Linked DNA regions of Homo sapiens: region 1 is linked to region 2. Evidence: promoter capture Hi-C in 16 types of primary human blood cells and fetal thymus (Javierre and others, 2016). All regions are on one chromosome and are shown on one strand. Each heading gives the region's core, a stretch centred on a gene start or on the middle of the fragment in contact. The rest is flanking DNA. Distances are from core to core; before and after follow the strand shown.

Region 1 (2,700 bases), core at 71-2,570, 2.7 Mb before region 2:
TGCTCGGTAGTTAATTAGGTTTTTAGATAATTGTGAGAGAACATTTTCAACGGTCCATTTTCAAGGCATGATAAATCTAAGCACTGGCAGCCCGCTTGCAAATGAAACAAACCTTACAGCTCATGCACCTAGAAGGTCACAATAAGAGAACAGAATGCAGAGGAAGGGTCAGCCCATAAAAGGGAAGACAGTTTTGTTATTGAGAAATCAAATCTTAAGCAGGGAAGGGGATGGGGATAACCTTATAAGGGGATAATGAAACTTAGGTGATGTCCAGGAAAATTGTAACCCCACAGTACTCAACCAATGAGGAACTGGGGGAGGAACTTTGTGTAAGAGATAAATTACTTGATGTGACTTCCCCAAGTGTGCCTGCCCACCAAACACCCAATCTTGCAAAGCCATTATTAAAAAGTCTCACTTTCACTGTTCTTCATACCTCTAAGTCCATTCTTTGGGTTTGGATGGGTGAGTGTGTTTCTGATAATAATCATTAGAAAACATGTTCTATCATAAGTAAAAATTCATCTTCTTGGAGAGTATCCACCATGACATCCTTGCCCACCTCTGTGTTAACAGAAAACAAACCCAATCCTTTTTTTCTTTTTTTAACATAATAACACCTCCCATCTTTGAGAACACTTTTCATGCTCCCTTTCTTTTATTCTCCAGGCTCTGGTCCTTCCCAGGGTATGCTCAGTCTTAGGAACTTTTTTCTGCTCACAGTTTCCAGTTTGCTTACATGTCCCATGAAGTATGCAGCCCTAAACTTAGGGGTAGTCATGTCTACCTTGTTTCTTTTACCACTTTTTGGGTTATCTGTCTTCTTTCTCTATTGCACAGACCTGTCCCCAAGGTTAATTCTGCCCTTGTTATGGAGCCACTCTTGATTGACATAAGAATTAAGCAGCAGCAGATTTGGACGTATCCCCAGATTTGCGATCATAGAATCCAACCATGTTTTCTGATTTCTTTAGCATCCTCTGGAAAGCCCCATTACTTCCAACCAGATCTAGGACCTAACACACCTAAAGCAAGGTCAGGATACTCAGGCTTCTCCCTACTCCATTTCGACCCTGGCATTTTCTATGTTTGGACAATATGTAAATTCCCAGAGTGACTTTTCTAGAGCCCGGTTTCTTCATATCTGACTGTTTACACTGCCTAGTCTATTAATCCTTGTCTACACTAGACCATACCCATTTAAAGGCATTTAGACTCCAGGCATTATATCAAATACATTAAAATGTATTCACATTCCATGTTAAACATAATTTACATATCACTATAAAACATTTAATTGCAGCTTATTTGTTAACATGTTATACTAATTTTAATATTGTAATATTCTTTATGTATTTTGGAGCCAATAATCCGTTTAAGACCCTTGATTAATTTGTAGATGTAGACACTTTGCCTATAATGCGTGTTGGCTATATGGCTGAACCTTTGACACCAATGGGACTCTAGTGCAACGGCCAAGATCTCCTTCCGAGCTTTATTTATTTGGAATATGTCCAACTCCTCTTAAATTTCCCACTGATAGAAATTCTGCTGCCACCATTAGATCTCCTGACCCTGATTGTGGCCCTTCCTGACTTTTAAATTGGCTGTCTACCTGTAATTTCTCAAGATGAAATTGCCTGCCAGGTTGAACTGCATGTGATAGGCATCCATCTGGGCTATTCAGCTGGGGTTAAGCCTCTATACAACCCTGTTCTGACCTCCTCTACCATTTTTCTGGTCCCATGTGGATGAGATCCCCCCATGCCTGCCCAAGTCATGACATTCTTGGAGTGACTGGCTAGCAAAGTCTAGTCACTGGTCTTCCATTAAAGCAGCACAAGTTCAAATTCGCTTTTTCCACAATCAAATGGTTTTTACTTTCTTTTGGACTCACACATAAGAACTAATATTGTTCCCATTTAATTGTATCGAGCCAGTTTGATAATTTTATCTAATTCAATTTGACTTACTATTTTAGCCTATTGAGTTTTTGCTTTTTGAGATGGAGTCTCACTCTGTGGCCCAGGCTGGAGTGCAGTGGCACAATCTTGGCTTATTGCAACCTCTACCTCCCAGGTTCAAGTGATTCTCCTGCCTCAGCCTCCAGAGTAGCTGGGATTACAAGTGCATAACACCATAAAAAAAATTAGGCCATCTAATTTTTATATTTTTAGCAGAGATGGGGTTTCTTCATGTTGACCAGGCTGGTCTTGAATTCTGACCTCAGGTGATCCACCCGTCTTGGCCTCCCAAAGTGGGATTACAGTCATGAGTCACTGTGCCTGGGCTATTTTTGTTTCTGGATGCTGATTTGCTCAACCTCTTAGTTTCATGTTATCTGCAAATTTGAAAAACATGCCTTTTATCATTATTCCCTTGATTGAGACAAATGTGGACTGGCAGAGACAAAGACAGAGCCCTGTAAGATTTCCCTGGTAATATTCCTGTAGGATGAATCAGGTCTTTAATCAGCACTTTGTGGGGTGACACCATCATTTATCCATTTAATATTTTCCTAATTGTTTAGCCTTTCGTCTATATCTCTATGTTTCTCATATTTTTCTTGATTGATTTTGCAGCCTATCAGATAAGAAAGTAAGGTCTGTTAGACTTATTTTTAGAAACATCAAGCTGCTTCCATAGATTACTGATTCTCCTTTTACAGAATGTGGGGTTACTATATTGCCCAGAATG
Region 2 (2,700 bases), core at 19-2,518:
TCTTTCTAAAACACGTATGTTCTAGTCTCTTATCTTCAATTCATAAAGCTTAAGTGACTCCCTATTGCCTACAATACAAAGCCTAAATTCTATGCATAGCCTACAAACTACTTCATCATTTTACCTCAATCTTTTTTGGAGAGACAGGGTCTTGCTATGTTGCCCAGGCTGGTCTCCAACTCCTGGGTTCAAGCCATCCATGCACCATGACCTCTGAAAGTGCTGGGATTACAGGCGTGAGTCACCGAATCTGGCCAAAAATCGCTTTTGCAAACTTACTGAAGGCGATAGTACTAATAAACCTGTCTATTATCAGTATGTGAGCAATGTTGCTGTTTGAAGCTAAATCAACGAGAATGTAACATCCTACTCTTCACTAAAGGATGCAAGAGGAGTCATTACATTCAAAGAAGCAGGCTGGATTTACAACCCAGGTGAAAAACTTCATATAACGAGTTTGAGGACACAGCGTTTTACATTTTTTTAACTTGTAGTTTCCACAGAAACAGAACCTTAAGTTGGCTAGGAGTCAAGATTGTATTGTTCCTAACAGAACCCTAAACGGTGTTATTAATGGAACAGTGTTCCTGATGGAACATGGTGAAGACACAACACACTTTTCTCCTTTTGAATGATAGCTGCTTTCTTTACAATAATTTCCACAGCCCAATTCCTTCCCACTCCTGTATAAACATCTGTGATACCCAGCTCAAAGCTGATTCCAGCTTCCCCTATCCCTTTCTTAGACTCATTCAGCAAAAGCCAGTACCCTATTATATAGTGTTTTCTCTTACTGAGACGCTCCCGATTTCCCATGGTACTGTTTGCCCTTTTGCAAACTTTGATGAGTTTTTTGACACAAGACGCTTATCTGTCATTGCGTTTGCAAATATGCATTCAATAGCTTGGAGTAGAGAGAGAAATGTATTCATAAATGGCAAATATATTCATGTTGCCAAACAGCAACATAAGCAACAAAGTACGTGTGAGCACTACGGTCTTACATACTAAATCTCATAAGCCTAAAGAATCTACTGCAAATCCCTCTTTGAAAGATGGGGGGGAGGGGAAAGTAGCGTAAAGTGATGACCCAGAAACTGCGATCTTCCAGGCAAGAAGAGCGCCCAGCCGCACCGCACTCGGACCGAACTCCTCGCGTCTCACCTCAGGCGTCCTAAAGGCGGTGCGCATGCGCAGCGCCCGCCAGCCACGCCGCGGTTCCTTCCTGCGCCTTTATCTGCATCCGGGTCCGTGGGATTCGCGCTCCACTGGTCAGCTGGGGTCGCTCTCGGGTGGTTGGGTGTTGCTTGTTCCCGCTGTTCCAGCATCGAAGAACCATTGGGTCTGCCGGTAAGTTTAGCGGGGGGTGCGGCGGGGGCGCCAAGAAGGGGACTCGGGTCGGGGGACCCGACGGCAACTTCGCCCTGTGCGGCCTTTGTGCTGAGACTGGGACGCCGGGCCGGGGCGGAATGGGTGCTCAGGAACCTCGAGGCTGGGGGCGCGTGGGGTCTCCCGTATTGCCACTCGCGGACCTGGTTGTCCTCTCCGGATTTGTGCCTACGGGAGAAGGCGTCCCTGCCCTCTCCTCTCTCGCGGCTTCTTCTTGACACCTCTCTCTACACTCGTTAAAAATTCCTAACAGTCATCCTCATTTGCATTCGCTGTCCTTTGCCAAGTGAGGGCCAGGCAAACGCGCAGCTGAGGGGAATCTGCAGCCCCCGCCTCCCGGGCAGGAACCACAGCCTTCTTTGCTGTCTCTCGTCCCTCCTCGGGTCGGTCCCACACGCGCGGCCAGGCCACCCTTACGCTTTCAGGACAGGTCAGGTTGAGTAGGGAAAAGCTCAGAGCAGAGGTTCTGCAAGTGTAGATTCTGGTCTTGGCCCCGCCATTAACTAGCTGTGTAACTTCACGGGTGTAGAAGTTGTCATCCACCATTGAAGTTTTGCGATTTATATTCAGCAGCCCTTTTTCCTAGCGATGCACATCCAAAATGAATCAGCACCTGAAGGAAGACGAGGGAAAGGGTGGTGCTCTGTTGTTTTTTGATGCTGTCTTGTGATGCCAGAGAATTGCATAAGGCGACAATAGTTTGGATCTCTGAGGATTGGCAAAAACTGGAAAAGTCAAATCTTAAAAACTTAAATGTGGTGAAGAAATTCTTCTTTGCTCTGGGTGAAGGGATTCATTTGGGACTTTTGGAGGTGACTCTGCGCCCTCCAGAGAGTTTAAGAAAACAAAAAGTTGCCTGTACCTTGGTCTGAGAGACTTGCTTAAACTTCGTTTCAGTGAGATGTGTGGTGTTCTTAACAAATTTCACCTGATTATGAATATCCCCTGTGATAATTTGCAAAAGCAGAGATTCCTTGGACTTCATTTCAGATCTTTTGAAACACTGTGTCTAGGGAGAGGGACCTGAGAATCTGTATTTTTAACTAGCATCGTAAGTGATTCTCAACCGGTAAGACATCTTTGGCTAATGTCTCTTTGAGTCAGAAACACTTAGTTTTAAAGCCAGCTCCCCGGGCCACTTTTTAACGTCAGCAATAAACTTCTCGTAGTTGCAGTTTTCTGTATATGAAGAGTGAGAATAATGCTTTCAACCTCAGAGACAAGTGATTCTAAGCCCTTTGACAATAGAGTTAATCATTTTTGTGTCTACAGAACCTAGCATAGTGCTTAGAATATAATAGGTCTTCAAAC

Evidence for each region. Contacts are between HindIII fragments. The CHiCAGO score rates a contact against its expected background, and 5 or more counts as called.
Region 1: a contact is called between a fragment that was not itself captured here and the fragment with the promoter of GNPDA2 in region 2, in 1 of 17 cell types (M1 macrophages). The highest score is 7.0, in M1 macrophages.

Annotation. Positions count from the first base shown.
Region 1 is chr4:47,386,777-47,389,476 of GRCh38, reverse strand. The region is part of intron 5 of GABRB1 (gamma-aminobutyric acid type A receptor subunit beta1); the gene reads right to left. Among named protein-coding and RNA genes, the nearest start is that of COMMD8, 76 kb to the left of the region's middle. The HindIII fragment of the contact is 4,382 bases long and covers 1-2,700 here.
Region 2 is chr4:44,725,124-44,727,823 of GRCh38, reverse strand. GNPDA2 (glucosamine-6-phosphate deaminase 2) reads left to right here and starts at 1,268. Exons shown (of 7, transcript NM_138335.3): 1 at 1,268-1,350. RefSeq lists an enhancer at 936-1,065 and a silencer at 1,558-1,852. The HindIII fragment of the contact is 3,169 bases long and covers 51-2,700 here.